Regions from separate parts of the Homo sapiens genome. Here all the other regions are linked to region 1. Evidence: promoter capture Hi-C in 16 types of primary human blood cells and fetal thymus (Javierre and others, 2016). All regions are on one chromosome and are shown on one strand. The core of a region is centred on a gene start or on the middle of the fragment in contact, and the rest is flanking DNA. Distances in the headings are between cores, read along the strand shown. Region 1 holds the start of GORASP1 (golgi reassembly stacking protein 1). Region 2 overlaps CSRNP1 (cysteine and serine rich nuclear protein 1). Region 3 overlaps LOC101928263 (a long non-coding RNA gene).

Region 1 (5,012 bases), core at 1,207-3,706:
GGCCTCATCACTACTCACTATGGCTCCGCAGCTGAAATAATCTATGCTGCTGCCCACTGTACGGCTCCCCCTGCAGAAACCACTGCCTGCCATCCAGCTCCCTCAGGGGCTCCCATCACAGCCTGCCCCAAGGCCCTATAGTGCTGCTTTTCCTCATGCTCCCACCCTATTTTTCCCAATCAGGGAACCTAATGGAACTCACAGTGATCACAACTTACACTTACTAAGGGCTGGTTGGCTGAGTGCCAGGGCATGGCACCACCTCACCTGCTTTATGTGTCATTTAACCTTTTTAATAACCTCAAATGACAAATGAGACCAAGTACTCAATAATTCAGTAATTTGACCCCAGGAAATCCAACCCAGAGCCCTCCCCCTAACCACTGCCCTCTCCTAACAGCTGTTTCCTGGTGAATCTGCCACTACTCTAAGCTCGCTGAGGGCAGCGACTTCTCCAAAGTATTGGGCACGCAGCGAGGTGCCAATATTTCTAGAATGCAGCACAGCTGTTCTTCAGTGTTGTTAAAGGTAAGTAGGTCATGTCACTCCTCCATTTAAAACCTCCTGATGGTTTTACATCTCAGAATAAAATCTTAAATCTTCAGGACAACAGGCAAGGTCCTACACGGTCTGCTCTGGTCTCCTCCTCACACTGGCCACACCATCCAAGCACACCAGCCTCACCTGGCATTTCCTCAAACACACAAGCACAACCTACCTCGGGGCCTCTGCACAAGCTGGTCCTTCTGCCTGGAATACTACTATTCCCCTAAATATCTGTATTGTCCACTCTTTACTTCCTTCAGAAGCATCTGTTCGAATGTGACTTGAGAAGAGGCCCTTCCTGACCACTCTATCAAAAATAGCACCCACTCACCATTCTGTATCCCCTTAACCTGCTTTATTTTTATCACTGGTAATTACCACCTACCATGTATTTTTTCATTTCCCTTCTTTCCCTACCATCATCCAAATGTCAGCTCCAGAACAGGGACCATGTTTGTTCTGTTCACTGCTTTATCTCTAGAGCCTTAGAATTCTGCCTGCCAGAGTAGGAGCTCAAAACTTTGTTTTTGTGACTGACAACCTCTGATCCCTGGTCCCTCTCCAATTTGTCCCTCTCCATCAGGCAGGCCCCTCCCGTCTTCGAAGCTCCCATCATCGCCCCACCCCTCCTCTTGCCAATATCCTGAGTTCCTTTGCCTTTAATCAAACCTGTTGGAAGACGCTCCTGGCTGGATGCATTCCACTGTCCACGCTTGCTGTTTGGTGTCTCACCATAAGAAAGCCCATTCCCAAGCACAAATCCTGTCAACTCTGGGTTCTCCAAGCCAGCCTGGTTTTCACGTTAAGAAACTTTTAGCCCTCTCATGTGGTTAGCTGGCAACAGACCCTACCTTCAAAACACACAAACCGACAAGCTTGCCTGTCTCCACTCATCTCTGCATCCAGCTGCCTTTCACTAGGGAAAGGGGGGGTGCAGGGACGCCTCTTCCCCGCAGCGCTCCGGGGTCAGAGACCCCCAGCCCCTCTCACCTACATTATAGCCCTTCCCTCACCGCAGGCACAAATCTCCATCCGGCTGCGGGACCCTCTCCTCACCCTCACAGCACACTCCGTTCTAGGAACCCCACTCCGTCTCCACTCTCCGGAAGCCTGCTCGCCCAGACCTCCATGTAGCGGCATCTAAAGGCTGGGACCCTCCCCAGCTGCAAACGCTCTCCTCGAGGATTCTGCAGCACTCTCCCGGCCCTCCCGCTCCCCACTATCCCGTGGCTGGTTTGCACCGGTCCTCTACCCTCGGAAGCCCTTACGACCCTACGACTGGCAGGACGCGCGCCGACGGGCTCCCCCGCAGCTGCGTCCACTCGGTTAACCCCGGCCCCCGGGACTGTCCTCGGCGTGGCTGACTCTCTTCCCAGGCCCAGCACGGAGAGCGGCCCGCGGCAGGCGAGCGTAAATGTGTGCTAAGTGCACGAGTGCGTCCCGACTGGTAGTGGTGCATTCTTCACCCGGGAGGAGCGCCATTCCCGGCGGCCGGACCAGGAAAACGCTCCGCTTCCGGCACTGCTGGCACTTGGGGCGGGCGCTGGGCCCGACCGCGGCCGCGGACTAGCCAGGGTCCGGGAGTCCCGCGAGGCCGCCTCTCCCAGGAGGCTCCCACCGGGCAGGGGGCACCTCCCGCCACCCAGGCGGAAACACTCGGGCCGGGACCCCGCCGCAGTCGCCAGCCAGCCGGCGACCGGACGCCCGGGCGCGGGGTTGCGGGCGCCTCGCCAAGGTCACCGGCGCCGCGGCGGCAACTCACCCCGTGGAGGTGGAAGCCCTCGGCGCCGCCTGCGGGCTGCTCAGCGCTGACGCCCAGGCCCATGGCAGCGGCTCCGCTCGGCACCCAGGTCCAGTCCCGCTGCGCCTACCCGGACCGACCCGACGCCAGTAGCACCGACTCGCTCTCTCGGCGCTCGATTCCTGCGCCTTGTGACGTGAGGCGTTTTGTTCCTCCCACTCCAGACACTGGACGCTCCTAGCAACCGGCTAGCAGCTCGGTTTCCAAGGACTGTAACGCCTTCAACCGCCCGCCGCGATAGAGTGCCCACGACCCTGCCTCGGGAATCCCGCTCTGCACCGCCCCACCAGACCCGGACTCGGAGCCGCGAGCGGCCCGAGATGAGCAGCAATGACTCCTCCCTTATGGTGCGTGGCCCGGGCGCTGTCCGAGGGCTCCCTCGTGACTCCCCGCCCCTGACCCAGAGACCGTCTGCCCTGCTACTCTCCTGCCACCCTTCGCTGTCCTCAGTTATATCAGGCGGTCCTGCCTTTTCTTGCCCCACTCCCCCTGGCAAGGGCGTCTTCTCCGGTGGCTTCTGCGCACCCTGAGCCCCAAATTAGCATCCCCGTTTCTTGAGCTACCCCAAACCAGCTCATCCAATCACTATCATTATCCCTTCTTGTCATCATCCCTTCTTCCACCCAGCTCACTCTCGCCTGCGCCTCCCACCCCAGTTGATGGCTTCACCATTTAATCTCCTAGCCTTAACTCATACCTCTTCCCTATACTCATCTTCTAATCCTGTCTACAAGAAATGCCAGCTCCTTGATGTCTCCTGGGTTTTCTTTTTATCTTTTTATCTTCTAGCCCAGAACCAGCACCATCTCTCCCCCCTGAGAGCCTGCAACAGCCTCCCTCCCATCTGGTTTCTCTGCTGTGGCTCTTTTCAGCATCAGTAGTCCCTGCTGCCACCACGGCACACACCCCCCACATGCAAAAGCAGCCAGAGTGGTTGTTGCAAAAATGTACATCTGAAAACATCCCTCGCCTTAAAACCATTCTGCTTTCTGTTACCCTTAGGATGGTGTCTGGGCTCTTTCATATGGCCCATGAGGATGTTTACAGTCCAACCACATCTGCTCCCAACCTAGCACCCACAAACCTTAGAGGAAGTGAAACTTAACTTTAAAATCTCAGCCCCTTTGTCAAGCTGTAGTTTCCATGGGCTTAAGCTTCCTTAGCTGTGAAAGATACTGAGAGGACCATGCACAGGATAGTGGATATGAAGCCCACAATAACTTGTAACTACAATTCGTATAATTTTTCTTATTATTTGTCCTCATTTTTCCCCCCTTATTCCCTTCCTAAGACAAAGCCTTGGTTGAATTCCCCATCATAGTTGAACCAGAATCTGTTGGTAATCCCCCAAACAAACACCTCCAAACTCTTTCCTGGGAAAACTGCATGGAGCTGCTCCCAGGGCTGTTAGAGGACAGGATGAGGCCTGAATGTTTCCTCTTTCTCTTCCCTTTGCAGAACTGAGGAGGAGCAGGGGATAGGGAAGGGAGCAGGTCTCATCCCATCTGGGACAGAACAGAGACAGAGAAGGGACTGGGCTATTGCAGTTATGTCTTCCTTCATACAGGCTGGGATCATTTACTATAGCCAGGAAAAGTACTTCCACCATGTGCAGCAGGCTGCAGCTGTGGGCCTGGAAAAATTCAGCAATGACCCTGTGTTGAAGTTCTTTAAAGCCTATGGAGTCCTCAAAGAAGGTAAGGACTTGGCAGTGTTGGTCTTGTGACCCCAGGCACTAGCTGGGCCCTAACACTCTGGCTCCACCTGGATGCCTTCTTGTATCCTAGTTATGGTCCCATAAAAACAGTTTCACACTCAGCGGCTGGATTCCCACGGGAATCCACAGAGGCCTACGTAATCCATATCTAGTTGACTTTTGAGACCTCAGAGCGCTGACTATCCCTGCTCTGCACCTCGGGTTCCCTCTCTGTAAAATGAGTGGTTGGAGAGATAGCTGCATGATTCTTGAAGTAATTCCAGGCCTGGAAGCTGAGAACTGGTAATGCAGGCAAAGGAGGGGGAAGAGGTAGGTGTGAGGACAGGTGGGTATGGTACAGGTACAGGGAGAGGAGTGAGACCCATGCAGGTGCAGATGGGCTGACATTCAGAAGGTGGTCCTAGGCTGAGGACTGGCAGAATAGCCCATGGCCAAATGTCTGAGGACATGGAGGGATAAATGTAATCAGTGGCTCTTGAGCAGTAGCTGAGAATGCCCTGCCTGAGGTCCTTCTTCAGAACTGACGCAGCTAATAATTGCAGCCTCACACATATCCCCACAAGTACTCACAGGGTGAACCTTTCAAGTCCAAGATTTCCAGCCCCTAACAGCCTGGACCATGTTACCAGCAACTCTTTCAAAGAGCCCCAATCTTCAGGGAACTTGGGTCACTGGGGACCTTTCAGACCAGTTAGTCCAGCAGGTAGTAGTGCTGAGCTGTTGGGTCAGCTACAGAGTCTCATGTCCTCTAGTCCTGGAGCTTGAGAGTATAACTATGTGGACTGTCTTTGCAGAGCACATCCAGGATGCCATCAGTGACCTGGAAAGCATCAGGCATCACCCAGACGTGTCCCTGTGCTCCACCATGGCCCTCATTTATGCTCACAAAAGATGTGAAATCATTGGTGAGTGCCACCATGCTCAACCAGGCCTGACCCACCAGGGGAA
Region 2 (4,642 bases), core at 1,369-3,868, 34 kb after region 1:
CTGCCCCCCGCACCCCCACTCCCCGCCAAGTCCAGCTGGCTTCTTCTAGTCCTTACCAGTTTGGGACAAACCTGACTACCCTCGCCTGGCACAAGGAAATACATGCCAAGAAAAAATAGTTCCCACTTCAGCTTTTACAAAATACACTGCCTATCTAACATCCTACAGAAACCCTTTTAATGTCTAAGGGGGCAAATGCAGTGGTTCCTATTTAGATGAATAATGTTAACTGCAACTGGCAAGAGGGTGACAGAGGGCACCTTTGCTGTGCTCCCAATACCAGTCTTCCTTGATGTCATTAAGGATGCCAATAATGGGACAGTCTGGCCTCAGGACAATCAGGAAGCCTAGGATCTCCCAATGTGGCTTTCCCGGGTCCCTTCCCCTCTCTGGGTCTTAGTGTCCCCATTTGTGGCAGGAAATTAGATGTCTCCCAAATCATGGCACAACTCTCTGCCAGTGATACACAGCAAACATTTTAAAGTTTAATAACTATGTGTTTTTAAAAACACATCATTTTTACATGGAAAACCAACTAGCACAGAAAAGTCAGGAATTTATGGGTGCTGTTCCATGGGATGGGTTTAACTTTTAAGCATACTGATATAATTGATTTAAAGAAAAATTATTTAGAGTAAGTAGAATGCAGATATGATATGGGCAGAGTTTTCAAGAGCAGTTGTCCAGTGACTAAGGTTTGGGAACAGTGGACAGATAAGGGTCCCTTTGGAACAGTGTAACTCGGATGGTGCTGAGCCTTGTTTTTATAACACACTGCTGATCACATACATGGTTTGTTGATATGAGCTGGGGATCTGGAATGCTTTCTCCAGGTTACTACCATTTTTCCTACGGGAAAACCCAGTCCCCTTTCTGTGATCTGCTTTACAACCCAGTTTTGTTGGGACAGGTTTGTTGACAGGTCTATCTATATGGAGAATGATCCTGTAAAGGGATTGTACATTAATCATGTTTTTGCTGTAAAACCTAGATTGTCTTCATTTATCTAAAAACAGAGAAACAAAAACTAAGAACCCTGTGGCCCTAGATGGGAGTAGGCAGGCCTCAGTCCAGCCATGGGCTGAGTCCATGTGGTGGAAGCCTGTTGGGACTTCCTGCCAGAGTACTGGAGCTGAGGGCTGCCACCCAGACCACCAGGCCAATCAGAGTGACCCTGGGAACCCTTGAAGAACCCAGGTTTTGGATTGTGCTTGCTGAAGTAATCGCTACAGAAGGGTGTCTAGGCACCAGTGAAGAAGAGACAGGACAACTCAATGTACCAGGGTACTCTAACCTGAGAAGCCTATTCCTAGTTAAGCTGGTTACAGGGACATACTGCCGCACCATAGGCCAGACTCCAAACTATGAGTCCTCTAATGGCACTGATATGGCCATGTGGTCATGACCATGCATGTCCAGAGGCAAGAGACAGATACCTGAAGGGTGACAGGACAGGCAAAAAAAGGATTAAACATTCAGAGAAAGAATGGCAGAAACATGAAAATCAATGCAAGTTGCAAACATACACAGGACTTGCATGTTCCAGGCACTCTTTAAGGGCTTTGTAAATATGAAATAAACAAGTTTATGAGGTGAGTAGTGTTACTGTTTGCATGTAGTATTGAGGACACCCAGGCACAGAGGGAGTAATTTGCACAAATCACCTCACTAGGTAGCAGAAAATCTGAGATTCAAGCCCAGCATTCTGGCTCTGTGCTCTTACCAGTTAAGCCAAAGAGATGAGTGAGCCCAGTACAGACCAAGGCAGAGAATTAGAGCAAGGAGACCCAAATCAGTTCTCCTCTGGCGGTTCCTCCTTCCAGCTCTTGTACAAATCACTATCATTCCTAAGGGGGAAGTCAACCTTTCTCAGGCCCCCAGACTGGGGCTCCCCAGAGCAGGGTGTGGCCTACTCCTCTGGCCTGCTGCCCAGCTGAGCTGCCAGGGACAGGTCAGACAGGTCTGGCTGGTGCAGAGGGATGAGGTTCTGCAGCTTCCCCCTGCCCTTTCCGCTGCCCCCCTGCTCAAGTCCCCAGGGACCACAGCTGCTACGTAAGGCCATCACCAGGCCTTGACCAGGCACATGCCCTTACCCTGCCTCCACCCAGGTTGGTGAATTCACCCTCAGGACAAGGCCTCAGCTCAGTGTGGGTGTGTAGGAAGAAGGGTGCCCTTACCCATCCCCAGCAGATAGCCCCATGTCAGAAGACCCTGGTGCTGCTCCTCCCCACCACCCCAGGTCACCACTGTAGAGGAACAGGTTACTCCAAAGGAAAAACTGCTCTATCTGCCTGGCCAGCCTCTCAGCTGGCTTCCTGCCTCCAACTTGACTGGCTTGCCTGGAAAGAGGCCCAATATGCTGGGTGTGCCTACTCCTACCCCTCAACACAGCCTGTGTCCATACTCCCCTCTGCAGGGCTTGTCCCCCATCCCCTTTGCCCCTGCTTCCCACCCCACAAATACATACCACATTGCTAAAAATAAAGCCTCTTTATTGGTACCTGTAAGCTCAGGTACAAGGTGTTCCCACAAGCACACAGGCTGGCAAGGCCTCCTGGGCAAGGGGCAGGCCCAGAGCCTGCGTTTCTTGGCACAGACACAGAGAGAAATGGAATAAATTATAGTTCTGACACTCAGGGACAATGTAGAAATTATGATGCAAAATTAAACATTAGCAAACAAAGGGTATAAAAACCCTCAGGAGCCACCCCTCGCCAACTGGCCTCAGGGCATGGGCAGGTGGGCCACGCTGAAGTGCAGTGCCCAGAAAGCCCTGAGATAATAGTCTGGGGCATGGTTCGCGCCCCGAGGTAGGCCCTTTGCCCTCTCTGGGCTTCCTGTTTCCTCCTTCCCCCTCCTACATCCCTGGGCCTGGAATAAAGGCTGTGGCCTTTGGGAAGGGGGAAGATGGAACAGAGGGCAGGAAGTGGAGGGGGCAGGGTGGGGCAGAAGGGAGTTTTGGTCACAGCTGTTCAGCCCAGGCTCTCCCCCTGCCTAGATGATGTCCTTGGCCAGCACCTGCCCACAGAGCCATCTAGGAGCCAGGCAGCAGACATAGATCACAGAGCTCAAATCCACACCTAGTCTGCACCAAAGCCCAGGCAGGGCAAGGTGTAGGACTACAAGGCAAAAGGGGCTCTTGAGGGCCTGTGCCCACCCCACCCCTGGCATTACCCACCAGCCAAAGAAGTGCAACCAAAGCCTCCTCAATCTCCAAATAAATTATGGAAATAAATTATAGTCTTCACAGTCCAGTGGATTTAGCCACCCATGGGTCTAGGGCTCAGGGTGGCAGAAGCCACCTGATTTCAGCCCTGTCTCACCGTCTTTGGGCTAAGGAACATCACGCAAAGACCGAAAAGTGGTCTGCCAAGCTCCAGAGGAGCCACATTTTCTCCTCTTCCAGGCTCACGTTGTGGAGATAGAAGAGCAAGCTGTGGGTGTGGGGGGCCGGGCAGCTGAAAGGGGAAGCCCCCTCCCCCCAGTCCTCTCTTCAGCACAGAAAAGTTAAAACAAATAAATAAATCCAGAGAATTGTTTGAAAACCAGGAGTGTGCACATGGCACCTGTGGGTGAGCCAGCCAGTGGGAGACTGTTACGCAGACTCTGGGGAGCCCCATAATTACAAGAAAGCAGCAACAGGTCTCTTGGGGCTGGGAAAAGACATCCTGGTCCTCACACCGGCACAGGCTCCATTAGAGATGCTGGGACAGTGTCCTCAAACTGGCTGTCAATAAAGGGATCTAGGGCTTCGGCGGCTGGCTCGGAGAAGCCCATGAGGGACTCCAGGAAGCAACTGCTGGCATCCCCAGGTGGAGACAGGCCAGGCAGGGGGAAGTGAGGTGCCTCGATGTTGTCCAGGCTGTCAGACACCTTCTGTGATGTGTAGTGAGGCCCCAGACTATAATCTGGCAGAGCCTGGAGTAACTCAAAGGAGTCACAAGAAGACAAGCTGAGATCCACTGAGCTACTCCGGCCAGCGTCCATGCTGGGTGGCACTGAGGTGCCAGGAAGGCTGCCTTCCCTTGACCCTTCAAGGCCACCATTTAGGAAGCAGCTGGCATCCAGGTTGGCATTCTCATCCAGGACGCCTGATGTGAAGCTACAGCCAGAATAGCTGTGGGTCCAGCTGGCCAGGCCACCAGGGTCACTAGTACCAAAGATGTCAGCTGGATGGAAGCAGCTGAGGTTGTCCAGGTTCCCCACGCTCCCTTCCTCCTCTTCCTCCTCCTCCCCACCGAAGTCAGAGTCACTGAAACTCAAGATGCGTGCCAGGCTGTCATCATCAACGCCAGGCTGGAAGCCAGGGCCAGGCAGGCCTGGGTGGGTGGGGCAGTCAGGAGCCTCACTAGTGCCCGATGCTGATGAAGATGCTGTAGAAGAATCAGTCATGTCGCTGCTGCAGCTGTTGTCTCCCAGCTCATTGTTCATGGGGGGCTTGGCCAGTGGGAAAGTAGGGACCAGGGCCTCCTCACCAGGGCTGGGTGGGCTGCCCTGGGCAGGGGCCTCCAGCTCCCTAAAGCTCTCAGCCTCCTGTTCCAACTGCAGGCGGGTGAGTGTGTGGATGAAATGGGTCTGAACTCTTGCCTGATTAAATTCCACACGGCCCATGGGGTTCTCACAGCCCTCCCTGCAGCAGCCA
Region 3 (4,689 bases), core at 210-2,709, 61 kb after region 1:
TCCAGTAATTTCATCAAGAGCTTGCTCTGCTTTTTCTGTAATCATCATATTCCCTGGTAGCCTATGACTCAGTTTATAAGCCATGATGTGAATTGTGTTGATTTTCACTGTAAGTTGGACAAGTTTAATGATGCCTTTGTGGTTTCAATCTTTTCTCTGTCTTTAGTGAGAAAGTGCATCCCTATCACAGTAGACTTTATTTACTCACATTCAGGAGAAGCTTGATTGGTTTTCTAACTAGCTTACAAGGTCTGATGCAAACAAATATGATGCAAAGGCCTCACTGGGCATCATGCCACTATCTGACAAGTTTCACAATAGATGATGCCTCAAGAGGAAATGCATTACAAGCTAACAAAATCCTATTTTTGGATATTCATTCCCATACCCTTATTTCTGATTCGTACTTTTTTTCCTACTTGTATAAAATCATCTGATTCAACCACTCATCAGCCCTAATATATATAATCACACTTTATATTGCAGTATTTTTGTTACTATTTTCAATAATACTTTTATTCTTTAATGAACCTTTTTTGAACGATGGATCTATCTTTATGATTTGGGGCCATACTGCCATTATTATATGATATAATAACAATAATAGTAACAATAAAATGGAAATATAATAAATATAAATAATACCATGAAAACAGTATGAAAATGTTTTATCAAGTTGGACTACAGCTAATGGTATTTATTCTCTTTACTAAATACAAGCTGAGCTAAACTGCTTAATTCAGCTCTGATGGCCCAGGTGCATGCTACAAGACCATGATAATTATTACAAAGGTATTGAGATTTCTATGGAAATTATCATTGATCTCACATTTATGAAATGTATGTGAACAAAATTTCTTGTCTGTGTAGCAACCTCTGTGTAGCCATGCCCTGCTTGTATCCCCTTGGCCTTCATAGTTCTCACACCTCCTGATGGTTTCTCACTGCAAACACAGGTGACTCTCTGCCTGAGTGATGTTTCTGGTCACAGGACTATGCTCCACAGGCACACAGGGCAGGCTGGACATGCCCCTGAATACAGCCCTTAGCTGACAATGGGTTAGGGTAGACACTGAGGGGTGTTCCAGACAGCATCCCAGAGGTCCCAGGGAGATTGAGCTGCAGCTGCCCACCCTGGTAATTTACTCATCAACACACCCTGTGTTGGTTTCCTTCCCTTCCCTGCCCATCTTCCTTTCTTTCCATGAGTGCTTCCTGGGATCCAAGTGAAACACTCAAATCTTTGTCTCTGGGTTTGCTTCTGAGGGAAATGAGCTCGAGGCAGTTTTTTCTTTGAAATATCCCTGCCGGCTCTGAGATTCATGGAACACATTTTAGGAAAAACTATTCTAGACAACTCTGCTCATTTCATCAATGAGCGGACTGTGGCCCAGAGTCGGGGCCCTGAAGTGCCTAGGGTTACTCTATGGTGAGGGACAGACCCAGCGGCCCTGGTGTTTCTATGGAACCAGCATAGACTGATGTCCTGATGCCCTTGGGGGCTGCCTTGGAGGTGTAACCTGAACTCCCCCAACCAGGCAAGACACACAGGGGCCTCAGCCCTTCTTAGACTTACCTGGAAGATCCACTGAGGACAGGGAGCTCCTGGCATAAGCTGGGGCAGGAGGGGAATAAGAGAAGAGGAAGCTAAGGCTGGAAGGGGTCTCCAGCCAGTGAAGGGCTGGGCCTGACCACTCTGTACCTCCTCTCTCCCCTGAACCCCTCTCACCTCGCTTTCCCAGCTCTTGTGTTTTTCTCCTTCCGCTCCTGCCCTCACCATTGAAATGAAGGGTTTTCTGGTCTGTTCCTTCCTGGATCTTTCCTAAAGAAGTCCCCACACAAACATCCCACACAGAGATCTCTTCGGCTTATGATGGAGTTAAGTCCTGATAAACCCATCATAAATTGAAAATATCATTAGTCAAAAATGCATTTAATACACCTAACCTACTAAACAACATAGCTTAGCCTCTCCTACTTTAAATGTGTTCAGAACATTTATACTAGCCTACAGCTGGGCAAAATCATCTAACACTTTTAAGACTATCTTACAATAAAGTGTTGCATATGTCCTGTAATTTATTAAATACTAAAAGTGAAAAATAGAATAGTTGTATGGGTACTTGAAGTACGGTTTCTACTAAATGTGTATAGCTTTCACACTATAGTGAAGTACAAAAATTGTAAATAGAACCATAGTAAGTAGGAGATCATCTGTGTACACACTCGTTTCTCTCTGGGATTAGACCCTGGCTCTGTGGATCTCAAAGAAACTGAGAGGGGGCTGGGCGTGGTGGCTCACACTTATAATCCCAGCACTTTGGGAGGCCAAGGAGGGTGAATCGCCTGAGGTCAGAAGTTCGAGACCAGCCCGGCCAACGTGGTGAGACCTTGTCTCTACTAAATATACAAAAATTAACCGGGCATGGTGGGGCATGCCTGTAATCCCAGCTACTCGGTAGGTTGAGGCAGGAGAATTGCTTGAACCCAGGAGGCAGAGGTTGTAGTGAGCCGAGATTGCGCCACTGCACTCCAGCCTGGACAACAAGAGTGAAACTCTGTCTCAAAAAAAAAAAAAAAAAAAAAAAAAAAAGAAGAAGAAGAAGAAGAAGAAAAAGAAAAAGAAACTGAGATGGATTCATGTCCCACAGAACAAGGCATTTTTCTCTGTGCTTCATCTTTTCCTATTTCCTATGAGAGAAGCTTGTGACCCTGTCAACCATTTCCAGAAGAAGAAATTGGCTTCTAACCTAGTTTTCTAAATAACCGATTGGAAATGTCTAACCTATGGACCTTTTCTTATTTCCATTTGACAGACTAAGGCCAAGAAAGAGGTTATATCATGAACCCATGACCTGACTCCAGACAATGATTTTGCCATTCCAACTTCAGAGGAAGCTTTGGAAGGAGTTTAAACCATAAGCTTACCCTCTCAATCATCCACTACCCCAAGGTAAGTAGGGCCTATTAGAATCATGGCCCTGCTGGTAAAATCACCCGCTCTCCTAGCTGTGTCCTGTCCAGATCCCTCACCTCAGGTTTTGTTTGTTTGTTTGTTTGTTTGTTTTTTGAGACAGAGTCTCACCTCTCACCCTGTTGCCCAGGCTGGACTGCAGTGGCACAATCTCAGCTCACTGCAACCTCCACCTCCTGGGTTCAGGCGATTCTCCTGCCTCAGCCTCCCAAGTAGCTGGGACTACAGGCACCTGCCACCATGCCCGGCTAATTTTTGTATTTTTAGTAGAGACAAGGTTTCACCATGTTGGCCAGGCTGGTCTCGAAATCCTGATCTCAGATGATCCACCCGCCTTGGCCTCCCAAAGTGCTGGGATTACCGGCGTGAGCCACTGCACCTGGCTCTCACCTTAGTTCTTATGGGGCCAACTGGGATGTCATCCTAAGGAACTGGAGCATAAATGTCCAGGGCCAGCTCTTGCAAGAGGAAATTCATTTATATAACAGTCACTGAATCCTGCAGGGCCCTAGGCTCACATGCAGAATGATAGAGGGCTCAGGAGATGAACCTTAAAGAATCGAATGCATTCCTGCCCTCCCGCGGTGAGCGCATAGGCTAAGAAGTGGGATAGTTCCCATACTACAGGCTAGAGCATACTAAAGGCAACAACAATAATAATGGCTGTGATGGTTTAAAAACATGCCTACACATTCTTTCATGCTTTTTTTTTTTTTTTTGCAATTAAGTCTTTTTTTTTTTTTTTTTTTGCCAGGCTAGAGTGCAGTGGCATAATCTTGCCTCATTGCAACCTCCACCTCCCAGGTTCAAGCAATTCTCCTGCCTCAGCCTCCCAAGTAGCCAGGATTACAGGCGTGTATCACCATGCCTGACACATTTTGTGTTTTTGGTGGAGATAGTCACCATGTTGCCCAGGCTGGTCTTGAACTCCTGACCTCAAGTGATCCACCCACCTCGGCCTCCTCAAGTGCTGAGATTACAGGCATGAGCCACCACGCCTGGCCACATGCTCTTCTTATCAAAATCAGAATCTAACATCCCTCCCCTTGAAAACAGGCCAGGTGGCTGGGCGCAGTGTCTCACACCTGTAATCCTAGCACTTTGGGAGGCTGAGGCGGGTGGATCACAAGGTCAGGAGTTCGAGACCAGCCTGACCAACATGGTGAAACCCTGTCTCTACTAAAAATACAAAAATTAGCCAGGCGTGGTGGCGCGCGCCTGTAATCCCAGCTACTTGGGAGGCTGAGGCAGGAGAATCGCTTGAACCCTGGAGGCAGAGGTTGCAGTAAACCGAGATCATGCCATTGCACTCCAGCTTGGGTGACAGAGCGAGACGCCGTCTCAATAAAAAGAAAGAAAATGGGCCAGACTTAGTGACTTGCTTCTAATAAATAGAACGTAAAATAAGTGATAGTGTGTGATTTCTAAGGCTAAGTTAGAAATGGTGATATAGCTTCTACCTAGCTTTTTCTTGGAATACTCGCTTTTGAAACTCAGCCACCATATTGTGAGGAAGCCTGGGCTACCTGGCAGACACCTCACATGTAGGTGTCCTGGTCAATGGCCCCAGCTGACAGCCAGCATCAACTGCCAGATTCATAAGTGAACACAGTTTCAGATGATTCTCACCTCTAGCCTTCATGTCTTTCCAGTTATGAGCTATTCTCATCAAGTTCTGCCCAAATTATAGATTTATGAGCAAAATAAATGTATGA

What was found. The method cuts DNA at HindIII sites, captures the fragments that hold promoters and counts their contacts. A CHiCAGO score of 5 or more calls a contact.
Region 2: a fragment that was not itself captured here is called in contact with the fragment with the promoter of GORASP1 in region 1 in 6 of 17 cell types (total B cells, monocytes, naive B cells and 3 more); the score reaches 10.8 in total B cells.
Region 3: a contact is called between a fragment that was not itself captured here and the fragment with the promoter of GORASP1 in region 1, in 7 of 17 cell types (monocytes, total B cells, naive B cells and 4 more). The highest score is 12.6, in monocytes.

Annotation. Positions count from the first base shown.
Region 1 is chr3:39,105,171-39,110,182 of GRCh38, forward strand. It overlaps GORASP1 (golgi reassembly stacking protein 1), which reads right to left and starts at 2,457. Exons shown (of 9, transcript NM_031899.4): 1 at 2,309-2,457. The coding sequence starts at 2,371. TTC21A (tetratricopeptide repeat domain 21A) reads left to right here and starts at 2,510. Exons shown (of 29, transcript NM_001366900.1): 1 at 2,510-2,694; 2 at 3,915-4,044; 3 at 4,859-4,969. The coding sequence starts at 2,668. RefSeq lists a silencer at 2,087-2,406. The HindIII fragment of the contact is 2,080 bases long and covers 1,420-3,499 here.
Region 2 is chr3:39,139,380-39,144,021 of GRCh38, forward strand. CSRNP1 (cysteine and serine rich nuclear protein 1) reads right to left here. Exons shown (of 5, transcript NM_033027.4): 5 at 2,476-4,642. The coding sequence ends at 3,676. Among named protein-coding and RNA genes, the nearest start is that of MIR6822, 3.5 kb to the left of the region's middle. The HindIII fragment of the contact is 8,062 bases long and covers 1-4,642 here.
Region 3 is chr3:39,167,121-39,171,809 of GRCh38, forward strand. It overlaps LOC101928263 (a long non-coding RNA gene), which reads left to right. Exons shown (of 3, transcript XR_245209.4): 2 at 2,817-2,953. Among named protein-coding and RNA genes, the nearest start is that of CSRNP1, 16 kb to the left of the region's middle. The HindIII fragment of the contact is 2,483 bases long and covers 219-2,701 here.